3 separate regions of the Homo sapiens genome follow, and all the other regions are linked to region 1. The links are contacts of gene promoters, found by promoter capture Hi-C in human tissues and cell types (Jung and others, 2019). All regions are on one chromosome and are shown on one strand. The core of a region is centred on a gene start or on the middle of the fragment in contact, and the rest is flanking DNA. Distances in the headings are between cores, read along the strand shown.

Region 1 (4,370 bases), core at 101-2,600:
CAAGGCAGGGTACAGTGGCTCATGCTTGTAATCCTAGCACTTTAGGAGGCCAAGGTGGGTGGATCACTTGAAGTCAGGAGTTCAAGACCAGCCTGGCCAACATGGTGAAACCCCATCTCTACTAAAAACACACATAAAAAATTAGCCGGGCATGATGGCATGCGCTTATATTCCCAACTACTTGGGAGGCTGAGGCAGGAGAATTGCTTGAACCCAGGAGGCAGAGGTTGCAGTGAGCCAAGATCGCACCACTGCACTCCAGCCTGGGCGACAGAGTGAGACGCTGTCTGAAAACAAAAACCGAAAAACAAAAAACACACAAACAAAAAAAGTAACGTCAAGAACCGCAACTGCTTTCGCACCAACCTAATACCTACAAGAATGCCTATTGGGTGGTCCATGCTGGGCACTGTAATTTCTCTCATTCTGAAATGAAGACACCTGGGCATATGAAATAAATGTCCTTACCAAAATTGTTCCTAGGACACTGTCAAGAGCCTGAGTTACATTTTGTTTGACTCCTGATACTTATCTAAATGCTAAGCTTCCCTGGGGGAAGAAATTCAGAGATATATGCAAACATAGTCTAAGGGGATGGGAAATGCCATCACACATATTACCCCAAATTTATAGCAGTTTTATATAGGATGTCAGTAAAGGAAATGAGAAAGGCAACCTAAACCCTTCAAAACTATCTTGGCTTCATCCTGCTGGGAAAAGCTGAACAGGCTTCACTTGATAATATGTCCATTTGTGTATGCTAATTTCCAAGGCTTTGAAAGCTAATACAAAATCTTTTTCATAAAAGGAGGTGTATGAGAATGTTTGCATGATTGATGGAATTCAGTTATATCAGACTCCAGAACAAGGACTGCCAACATTAATGGATCATTGGATCGTTCTAGACACTGATGCACTGCTTGAAGGAGACAGGCAGATAAATTACTGGGAATAAAATTTCCCAGTAATTTTAATGACTGTTCCTTCTTTCAGTTAATTCAAGTCAATCCAATGCAGCAGGTTGTAGTTAAACACCTATTGTGTGTTCATCAAAGAATTGTACAAAATGGTCCCTTTCTTTAAATACCTTTTTGAACAGTTTAGTACGAAAGTCCATGTCTTGACTGAGGTAGCCTAGGAAAAAGATCCCACATATTCATTTGAAAAAAAAAAATCAATTGCAATTGAATACCCCTTAGCTCTACTTCCCTTCAGTTATCCCCAGACCAGATGGCTGGAGTGACCCAGGTTTACAGCTGAGAACATGGCCCCCCAATTCCAACTTACCTTCTCCGTGTCCACTCTGGAAGCTTAGGCTGTAGTGCTGGCAAAGTTGTAACTGCCAATGAGTAAGAAAGAGCCAACCTCAGCTTCTTTAATCTCTCCCCAAATGGGCGGAAGAACCGTAGGCTCTCACTGAGGTTCCTGCAGTATCTATAAAAAGAACCGGAAGGACAGAAAGACACACCTATTCCAGTTTCACAGCAACTTTTCTACAGAGATTTCCTTGGTGAGAATAATTCTTTTTCATTCTACTGCTGACCAGAGGCACCTTGGCCTTAGGGAGCGGGTGTAAATCTGAAAGTGGGTATAAATCTAGGAAAGACGGCTTCCTCCCTGTGTATTGCAACACATTCAGGGAAGCTACACAAGGCCCTCAGGTGACTTACACCAGGATACCTCGTCCTTCTTCTGACCTATTGCCTAAAAAGCCATCTCTGGAGACTTTCTCACATCTTGATTTTTTTTTTTTTTTTTTTTTTGAGATAGAGTCTTGCTCCATCACCCAAGCTGGAGTGCAATGGCACGATCTCGGTTCATTGCAACTTCTGGCCTCCCGGATTCAAGCAATTCTCCTGCCTCAGCCTCCCGAGTAGCTGGGATTACAGGCGCATGCCACCACATTTTGTATTTTTAGTAGAGACGGGGTTTCACTATGTTGGCCAAGCTGGTCTCAGACTCCTGACCTCGTGATCTGCCCGCCTTGGCCTCCCAAAGTGCTGGGATTACAGGTATGAGCCACCTTGCCCGGCCCCCACATCTTGATTTTAATTCAAAAGAGCATCCATTCAACAAAGTACAGGTAATGAGGTTTCACTGGGCCATAAGGAAGGGTGGTTTTGTCTACTACTGGCATTAAAATGGCCAGTGGCAGGCAAAACTGTGAATCAGTCTGTGAATTTATCCCAAGATAAAGAACTGACAATTAAAGGTCACCGGCTGATACTTGAATACCATATTCCTTTTCTTCTATGGTGACACAAAATACAGCACAGCACAGTGTCCAGCCTACACCCACCAACCGCACCCCGCCACCTCCAATTTACTCCTTGATTTTCTTCCTGAATATATGTTTGTTTTTTTTTTTTTTTGAGATGGAGTCTCGCTCTGTCGCCCAGGCTGGAGTGCAGTGGCGCGATCTCGGCTCACTGCATCCTCCGTTTCCTGGGTTCAAGTGATTCTCCTGCCTTGGCCTCCCGAGTAGCTGGGATTACAGGTGCATGCCACCACGCCCGGCTAGTTTTTTATATTTTTGGTAGAGACGGGGTTTTACCATGTTGGCCAGGCTTGTCTTGAACTCTTGACCTCAAGTAATCTGCCTGCCTCTGCCTCCCAAAGGGCTGGGATTACAGGTGTGAGCCACCACACCCAGCCCCTGAATATATGTATTTCGACAGAGGACTGCTGAAGACCCCAAACCAGTGTCTGGTTTCAAGGTGCTTGTGATCTGGCTCTCCCTTTCTTACCCACCTGTACTTCCTTCACATCTCCAGGCTCTATGGTTTAGCCTCCTTGGTTTTCCCACTGGCTCACAAAAAAAATAAGTTCCCAAGTGCTCACCTCTGTCCCTGTCCGAAACTGCCTTGTGCTTGATTCCCATTTATCCTATTTTTGACCCAAATTCATTCCCTCCCTGTAGGATTTTCTTCACCTTATCTCCTCTATGACTCTTCCTGCCTTCCCTCATCATTCTAGACCTCGCTGATCACCTTCCACCAGGAACTATACAAGACTTGGGGTCTGTTCTGTTCAAAATTACAGAAACCCTATTTTCTGCCTATTAGTTAACTTATGAATACATATTAAGTAATAATGAATTGAAATAAATGAATAATAAATGTCTCAATTTCTGTTATATGAATTAATCTCATCTCCTGATTGGATTTATAGCTGTCTAGGGGTCAGGTTCCACATTTTATGTCCCCATAGTACCTGCTTCTATGTGGAGAACCTCCTGGGTGATGGATAATTCAATTAATGGAATGATTCTAAAGATAAAATTCCAGATCTTTCAGAAGGTCCTTTTTAGTGGTGTGGTTTTTCAACAGATGTGTGTTAATGGAAAACACCTGCAAATAAGTGAGAGACTTAACAAACCCTTGACAAAATCATTCTGAAGTGGTGTTCTATCTTTAGAGTTCCTTAACTTCAAAAAGCCATTTTCTCCTATGAGAGAAGAAGATTCTAGGGATGATAGAATTTTCTTACATCCAATTACACCTTAAGCTCCCCTTTACCTGCTTTGGGTATAATAGCAGTCTTTCCGAAGCTGTGAAGGCTAATGTTTACGTTAAGGGTAAAGGGATTTTTCAGATGATGAAATGTGACATCCGTGAGCATCCACTCAAAGAGCATAGTGAGTGGTTAAACTGCTGTCAGCAGAACTGCAGGAGGATTTTCCATTGAATTCTTCCAGGAGTACTATTTTGTTGATCCTGCACCTCCCACCCCCTTCCTGCTGGTTAGTCATGGTTGTCATTCCTCCTCCTGGTGATGTTTTAGCTTCTGGTGTGCTTGTCTTCTAAGGAGATTCCTCTTGAGCTCCTGATGGCTTGAGACCAGTGGATTTATGGGTTAATGACCACAAAGCCCTTTAAGTACCTTAGATAAAAGGACGTGTCCCAGGTATTAATTATTGTTATTTTAAAATCTAGCGTTATAGAATTAACCCATCTGCAGCTAGGCCTTAAGGATATGAGGGGCCTTTTTGCCTACACACATCCAAATTACTCACAGCTCATTTCTTTTGGCTTCTGTGCTACAATAACATCAGAACAAACAGCTCAGATATGGCTTTGATTAATCAAAATACACTGATTACAATGAGTCCAATAAAAATGGAAATAAAACAGTCAGGACACCAAACATCTTATGTCAAACACCTATTTATGTTGTTTCCTTCTCACAGAAACAGAGCTGGAGGGAATGTTAAAGGTTACCTAGCCTAACTCCTATTAATGATTAATAATAAGGAAGCCAATGTTACAACATGAGGAATTTAATAATAAGGAAGCAGAGGCCCAGGGATGAAGGGATGTGCTTACCATATGGAATGTTGAAGATGACAGCCAAGGTTTGTTGTCTCCTGG
Region 2 (3,971 bases), core at 1,132-3,631, 1.1 Mb after region 1:
CTTCTAGTCTGTGGCTTAGTTTTATTAATAGTGCCTTTTAAAGAGTAAAACATTTTAACTTTGATAAAGTCTAATTTATAAATTTTGTCATTTTTGTTAGATTGAAGAAATCATATTTGTGATCTAATGTTTTCTTCTAGAAATGTTACAGTTCTTGCTCTTACATTTGACTCTCTGATCCATTTTGAATTAATTTTGTGTGTGTGTGTGTGCAGGGTAATGTAAGAGTCTAAGTACTTTTGCATATGGATATTAAATTGTCTCAGCACAATTTGTTGAGAAGACTATTTTTCCCCAAATGAATTGTATTTGCACCTTTTTTGAAAACCCATTCATCATAAATGTTAGAGATTATTTCTGGGCTCTCCATTCTGTTCCACTGACCAATGTTTATCCTTATATCAATAAATACCACACTGCCTGATGACCAGAACCATGCTGTAATTTTGAAATAAGCTAGTATAAATCCCCAACTTCATTTTTCTTTTTCAAAATTGTTTTAGCTCTTTGTATTTCCATATAAACTTTAGAATCAACTTGCCAAATTCAACAAGAAACAGCCTGCTGGGATTTTGATAGGAATTGTGTTAAATCTACAGATCATTTTGAGAAGAAATGCCATCTTAATAACATTGAGTCTTACATTCCAAGAATATGGTATCTCTTTCCATTAATTTAGATCTTGTGTGATTTCTCTTAGCAATGTTTTATAATATTTTGGCTTATGGGTCCTACACTTCTCTTGTTATACCTATTCCTAAGAATTTTCTTTTGTTCATACTTTTGTGAATGAAATTACTTTCTTAAATTTATTTTCGAATGGTTCATTGCTGGTATAAAGAAATAAAATTGGTTGTTGCAAATTTACTTCATAGCCTGCAGCCTTGCTAAACTCACATTAATTTTAACTGGTACTTAACCTACATATAATCTTGGGATTTTCTACATACAAAATCATAAAGGCCTTTAATTTATTTCGTAGCTTAGTTACATTGGCTGGAACATTCAGTAAAATGTTGAGTAGAAGTAGTGAGAGTGTATGTACTTGGCCTATTCCCAATCTAAGTGGAAAACTTTTACAACTATCATTCACAATTAAGTATAATATTAGCTGAAGGTTTTTCATACATACTCTTTCTCAGGTACAGGAAGTTCGTTCCTATTTCTAATCTGTTGAGAGATTTTAAACATCAATGAATACTATATTTTGTCAAAAGTTGTTTTCTGTGTCTACTGAGAAAATTGTATAGCTTTAGTCCTTCATTCTATTAATATAGTATATTTATTAATTGATTTGCATATGTAAAGTCATTCTTGCATTTCAGGAATAAATTCTACTGGGTAATGGCATATAATCCTCTGTTTATGTTGCTTGTTTCAATAAGCTAATATTTTGTTAAGAATTTCTGCATCTATGTTCATTAGAAATAATTGTATAGTTTTCTTTTCTTGTGATAACTTTGTCCTGCTTTGGTATCATATCAATACTGACAAGTTAGGAAGGGTTTCCTCCTCTTTTTTTCTGAAAATGTTTGTGTAGGATTGGTATTATTTTTTCTCTAAATGTTTGACAAAATTTACTAGTGATGCCATCCAGGTCTGAGCTTTTCTTTGTAGGAAGCTTGTAAATTACTAATTCAATCTCTATGAATTTCAGGTTTATTCAGATTTCTATTTCTTCTTATGACAGTTTTGGTAACCTGTATCCTTCTAGAATATTAACTATTTCATCTACATTGTCTAATTCATTGGCATAATATTCCCTTCTAATTCTTTTAATTTCTGCAGGATCTGTGGTGATGTTCTTTCATTCTTGATTTTGTTAATTTGTCTTCTATCTCTTTTTTTGTTAGTGTAGCTAAATGTTTATCAGTTTTACTGATCTTAAATAAACAAACTTTTGATTTTGTGGATTTACTCTGTTTTTCCAATTTGTATTTCATTTATTTCTTTTTTGGTCTTTATTATATTCTTCCCTATGCTTACTTGAGATTTAACTTACCATTCTTTGTCTAGCTTCTTGAGGTGGAAGCTTAGGAAATTGATTTTAGATCTATTTTCTTTCTAATATAAGCACTTAACATTAAGTTTGTCTGTAAGCACTACTTTAGCTACCTCTCATAAATTTTGATAGATTAGGTTTTAATCATTATTCAGTTAAGCATATTTTCTAACTTACCTGGTGATTTCATCTTTGACTCACTGTTTTTCTAAAACTATTTGTTGAAATTCCAAATATTTGTGAAGTCCTAAATACTTTTCCGTTGTTGGTTTCCTGAATTTTTTTAGTCAAAAATCATATTCTGAGATGTGTTTGACAGTCTATAGTATTATTATTTATCATGGAAAATGTTCCATGTACACTTGAAAAAAATGTGTACCCTGCTGTTGTTGGATAGAGTGCTCTATATATTATTTACATCAAGTTGGTTAATGGTGTTGTTCAAGTCGTGAATATCCTTACTGATATTCTGTCTAGTTCTGTCAATTACTAAAAGAAGGATGTTGAAATTTCCAACTACTACAATATTATATTGTCTGTCCTTTAATTCTGTCAATCTTTGCTACATTTGGGACTCTGGTGTTAGATGTTTATACATTTATAATTGCTACTTCTTCCTGATATACTGAAAATTTTATTATTATAAAATTGTTATCTTTGTCTCTCATAATAGTACTTGTCTTCAGGTCTATGGTTTTGTATGTAATAAAGCCAGTTTGGTTCTTTACTAGCTATTGTTTGCTTTTTCTCTCCTTTTACTTTCAACCTGTTGGTATTTTTCAATATAATGTCTCTTATAGATAACATATAGTTGGACCTTGCTCTTTCCTCTGTTAGAGTTTTAATTATATTTTTAAATTATTTTCTTAGTAATTCTTCTAAGGACTACAACATATATCTTTAATTTATCATAATCTGTTTCAGGTTAATAATAATAGTAATAATATACAGGAACTTTGCTCCAGTTTATTATTTCCACTATCTTTTCTCACTTTAGTGCTAGTATTGTCATACATATTACAACTATATATGTAAGATATCCTCCAAAATATAGCATTATAATTATTGCTTCAAGTACTTTTTGTTTTTAAAGAAATTAAGAAAAGAGAAAACACTGGACAGTCTTTTATAGTTGTCCATATATTTGACATTTTCTTTTTTTTTTTTTTTTTTGTTTGAGACGGAGTCTTGCTCTGTTGCGCAGGCTGGAGTGCAGTGGCGCGATCTCGGCTCACTGCAAGCTCCGCCTCCCGGGTTCACGCCATTCTCCTGCCTCAGCCTCCCGAGTAGCTGGGACTACAGGCACCCACCACGACGCCCGGCTAATTTTTTGTATTTTTAGTAGAGACGGGGTTTCACCATGTTAGCCAGGATGGTCTTGATCTCCCGACCTCGTGATCCACCCGCCTCAGCCTCCCAAAGTGCTAGGATTACAGGGGTGAGCCACCGCGCCCGGCCATATTTAACATTTTCATTGGTCCTTCTTCCTTCCTATGTAATTGAGTAATCATCTGCTGTCATTTCCTTTCAGCCCAAAGGACTGCCTTCAGATTTCTTGTAGACAAGGTCTATTTTTATTTTTGTTTATCTGGGAAGGTCTTTATTCTGCATTCATTTTTTACTCTTTTTTATTTTTTAAATTTTTTTTGAGATATGGTCTCACTGTGTCACCCAGGATGGAATGCAGTAGTGCAATCATAGTTCACTGCAGCCTCAAACTCCTGGGGTCAAGGGGTCCTAAGCCTCCTGAGTAACTGGAAGTATGGAAGTAGGGGTACACACCACCATGCCTAGCTTTTTTCTTTTTTCTTTTTTCTTTTTTTTTTGTAAAGATGGGGTCTCATTATGTTCCCCAGACTTATCTCAAATTCCTGGCTTCAAGCAATCCTCCCAACTCAGCCTCTCAAAGTGCTGGGATTACAGGTGTGAGCCACCTCACCCAGCCTGCCTTCATTTTCGAAGACTGTCT
Region 3 (4,552 bases), core at 60-2,559, 1.2 Mb after region 1:
GTGCTTTTATTAGGGTTTAATCAGAGACTATTGTAAGAATCTCTAATCTGGGTTCTAAGCATTTGACATTATTAAACAGCTAAATGAAAGAGAACAGAAGGGTTGCAAAGTAGAAAATGTATTTTATTTTTAAATTGAACGCCATTATATTTGTAATAACATTGCATGCTAAGAAGCATTAGGCAGCTCTGTCAGTTCCTGCTTCATACAGTCTAAATAAAACTGGAGAGCAATTTCTGAGAAGCCAAGGGGGTGAGGATCTCATGTCTACCCCAGAGCGATTCCCAAGAATAGCAGGTCGGAAGTTCTAAGGTACAAGTGAAAGGCTGTCTGAAGTTCTGTTTGGTTGTTGACCTACTGCTGGCTGCTAGGTTTGCCCAAGGGGTATCAGTGATAATAGGCTAGTCATAGGTCAGTCATTGCACAGATACACTCATCATCCTGGGAAGGCCTCGGATGTGCCTGGAACGACCGATGTGAGTCATGAAGGCCCCCTTGGAAGACCACATCCAACCCCATACTTCTCACCTGGACTGTGACTTAAGCAAAGTCCTCCTGAAGACCAGAGAGATGATCTACCATGAGTGTGCTCCGTCGGAAAACACCCAAATCCTTAAGGACATACAACCTCTTCCTGGGACCCCACATCCACCCTTGCTCTGGGGGTGGCCTAAATGAGGGTGAAGACTCAGCTAGAAGAATAAGGGGCAGCAAACATACCTGCTTGCTACAAAAGAAAAGAGAGCAGAGAGTCAACACTCAATCTTGTTTCCTGACATCACCTGAGTCTGTAACTCCATCGGAGGATTTAGGGGGCAAAAATTAAACTCTCAAAAATGATTTTAAAGATTTTAACCTGTAATTTAAAGAGTAAACATTTGTCATCCTGTTTTGGGTTGCACTGTGTCACAAACCAGAAACAAATAAAATTTTCAAACCAGCAGCTAACTTTAGCACGGTTGAGCCGGGACCATCCACAGTGAGAGAGGCTGCCAGCACAGACAGTACCCTCTGCTGGGCAAAAGGGTCCCTACAGCCCCTCTTAGCAGGGCTAAAGCTGTGTGTAACAGGGTGACCCTCCAAGCTGCCCTGGCCCCCAAAGCCGAATAGCCCATGGGAGTGTCATGGCTAATTTTCCATCTTCGGATATGAGCTCAAGAAATATACATGGCCGGGCGTGCTGGCTCACACCTGTAATTCCAGAACTTTGGGAGGCTGAGGCAGGTGGATCACTTGAGGTCAGGAGTTTGAGACCAGCCTGACCAACATGTAGAAACCTTGTCTCTACTAAAAATACAAAAAATAATAATAATAATAATTAGCAGGGCATCGTGGCAGGTGACTGTAATCCCAGCTACCCAGGAGGCTGAGGCACGAGAATCACTTGAACCCAGGAGGCAGAGGTTGCAGTGAGCTGAGATCGCACCACTGCACTCCAGCCTGGGAGATAGAGTTAGACTCAGTCTCAAAAAAAAAAGAAAGAAAAGAAAAGAAAAGAAAAAAGAGAAGAGAAGAGAAAACAGAAAAGAAAAATGCTTGAGAAAAAGCAAACACCAGAAAGCCAGAGCAGGTGGGAAAGAACAAAAGGCATTTTTCTGCTTCTCTCCACTTTTTACCAACTGCTGCTCACAGCACTTTCTGCTGAAATGTTATTGCTGCTAAGGTGTCAGCAGATGAGAGACAAGTTTCTGCCTTCCCTTGAGACATCTGGATTTCCAAAGCAGGCTTTTGAAAGCTAAAAAGTTTTCAAGCCCCAAATGAGAATGGGTTTGGATTTATTCAAAAAAGGACCATACACATGGGAGAGAGATTTTCCTGGCACACTTCAAACCACATTTTCCAGGAAAGGAAGACTTTCAAGTAGCTCTGCTCAGGTCAGACTTAGGGATACGGGATACTCAAGGGATAGCATAGGATAGCCTGGGCAGAGTAGGGGGGTCGGGGGACATCCCTGTCTTCAACTGAAATGCAAGAATATGTTATAGAAGAACGATCACTATTGGGAAAAGGATGGTTTCATCTAATGTATTTGAAATTATATGAAGGGTTGGTTGATTCCACTTGACAACTATGTATGGAGATCCTCTTAGGAGCTATACTGTGAGATACTAAAGTATACAAAAATTACTAAGACACAATGCCTACCCTCAAGGTGCTCAGTCTGGCAGAGGAGATAAACATGGAAATACCAATGCATTGAGGCCCATACTATACTAGCTTTATGTTCAAAGTGCCATCACCCAAGAAGAAAGAGTGGAGGAGGCCTTTTCAAACATAAGTATAGAAGAGAGATCTTGACTTTAAAAATGCTAATCTCTCATATAAAAGTTTTTAATGAGGCTAGTGCTAGATAAGGGAAAGAAACGGAGAAATGAAGCAAAAATGAGACCTGTAAATTAAGTAAGACCTATTGCAAAAGAATTTTTCCTTTTGCTTTTTAAACTTGCAGCCATTTCAGATGCATAATTATTAACTGTGTCACAAGAATAAAAAAATAAACAGAGCATGGAAGATGATAGTGCACATAAATATTAGATCTTAATATTCATGAAACCTTGGCCATTCACTACATTTAGGGTTAGGGCCAGGAAACCAGAAGGTGAACAGAAAGAGAAAATTGTAATATAGAAGGAAAATCAGATGAAAGCATTACCAAATATTTCAATAAAAGTGGAACTAAGGCCAAATAGGACAAAAGGCAGAGCTGCAGAGGCAGATGATTTATTAACAGAGCTACTAAATTCTGTGTCAAGGGTAATTTCAAGTTACAAAGACTGAAGCTAAGAAAGAATGAAGTAGAAAGTCCAGAGAATTGGGAGTTTAGAGACCAGATTCTAGACTTAGCTGCACTGCTGACAAATAAGGGGACCTCTGTAGACCTTGGTTTCCACATCTGTAAAAAGATAAGGTAGACCGGGTGCAGTGGCTCACGCCTGTAATCCCAGCACTTTGGGAGGCTGAGGCAAGCAGATCACTTGAGGGCACGAGTTCAAGACCAGCCTGGCCAATATGGCAAAACCCGGCCTCTACTAAAAACACAAAAATTAGCCAGGGCATAGTGGCACACACCTATAATCCCAGCTACTCGGGAGGCTGAGGCAGGAGAATTGCTTGAACTTAAGAGGCAGAGGTTGCAGTCAGCCGAGATTGTACCACTACACTCCAGCCTGGGAGACAAAAAAAAAAAAAAAAAGATATACTAGAGGCTCTTTAAGTTTCCTTGCATCTCATCGGAAAAAAAAGAGCTGGCTGGGCGCAGTGGCTCATGTCTGTAATTTTAGCACTTTGGGAGGCTGAGGCAGGCAGATTGCCTGAGCTCAGGAGTTCGAGACCAGCCTGGTCAACATGGTGAAACCCCGTCTCTACTAAAATACAAAAGAAATTAGCCAGGCATGGTGACTTGCGCCTGTAGTCCCAGCTACTTGGGAGGCTGAGGCAGGAGAATGGCGTGAACCCAGGAGGCAGAGATTGCAATGAGCCGAGATTGCGCCACTGCACTCCACTTTGGGTGACAGAGCGAAACTCCATCTCAAAAAAAAAAAGAGCTGAAACATGGATAACATATAGCACCCATTCATTCATGTCAACAAATATTGGGCACACATATAGCATGTTCCTGGCATATAAGGACATCATGGAGAATAAGGAGTTTATACTCTGTCAGGGAAGACAATCATAGGAGACAAGAAAGGGTAAGAACAGTACTTGGGAATATTTTCAATTCAGTTATTGAACACTGTGGTAGCAGCCTCCAAGATGGCCCCCAATAATCCTTGTCTCAAGTATTCACGTCCCTGTGTAATTTGCACCCACACTGTACCAAGGTTGTTCTCTATGATTGACAGTATACAGCACAAATAATGGCAGATCACTTCCAAGATTCTTAGATTATAAAAGACTGCAGCCTCAGTCTTCAGTACCCTATCCCCATCCATCTGTATCTGCATCTGTATGTCTATGTCTATGTCTATCCCCATCTCTATCTCCATCTCTCTTGGATCGCCTGCTGTTTTGACTTACGTTTGATGCTCTTTTCACTATACTGCATTGACTCTTTAAAATGAATTAATTTCATAGATAAATAAGGTTCAAGTGGATTAAGTAATTTGTTCAAGATTCTATAGCAAGTAGCTGAGCCTCTGCACTAACCTATCAAACACAACTCCATTGTTTAGGATAATCTTTTTCCTTCTGTCAAACTTCACTGACCTTGAGATAATTAGCTCAATGAACATTAAAAGAAACCAGAGCTGTCCTTGAAAGGTAAGCTGGGGTGTTTGCCTCAGGTCTTCCAATTCGAGGTGAGTGCTATATCAGTGATTCATACTTAGTGATCTATTCATCCATTTACTCAACAAGTATTTTTTAACACCCATTTAAGCACAGTGGGTTGTAAGAAATACAAAATGCTGAGATTTATTAATCTAATCAGGAATAAAAGGTGAATGTCATGAAAAATTAGAATAAGATCATTATATGTCTGCCTGCTGAACGAATGATGTGAACAGTATATACAGTAAGCATTTAAAAAGAATCATAGAACCTTAAAAAA

What was found. The method cuts DNA at HindIII sites, captures the fragments that hold promoters and counts their contacts. A contact is called where the count stands out against the background at its distance.
Region 2: a fragment that was not itself captured here is called in contact with the fragment with the promoter of GPRC5D in region 1 in 1 of the 25 tissues and cell types used here (dorsolateral prefrontal cortex).
Region 3: a contact is called between a fragment that was not itself captured here and the fragment with the promoter of GPRC5D in region 1, in 1 of the 25 tissues and cell types used here (stomach).

The regions. Positions count from the first base shown.
Region 1 is chr12:12,950,820-12,955,189 of GRCh38, forward strand. It overlaps GPRC5D (G protein-coupled receptor class C group 5 member D), which reads right to left and starts at 1,351. Exons shown (of 4, transcript NM_018654.2): 1 at 1,288-1,351. The region is part of intron 1 of GPRC5D-AS1 (GPRC5D and HEBP1 antisense RNA 1); the gene reads left to right. The HindIII fragment of the contact is 7,971 bases long and covers 928-4,370 here.
Region 2 is chr12:14,018,817-14,022,787 of GRCh38, forward strand. No RefSeq gene overlaps it. Among named protein-coding and RNA genes, the nearest start is that of GRIN2B, 39 kb to the left of the region's middle. The HindIII fragment of the contact is 5,764 bases long and covers 1-3,971 here.
Region 3 is chr12:14,137,639-14,142,190 of GRCh38, forward strand. No RefSeq gene overlaps it. Among named protein-coding and RNA genes, the nearest start is that of GRIN2B, 160 kb to the left of the region's middle. The HindIII fragment of the contact is 4,662 bases long and covers 1-3,640 here.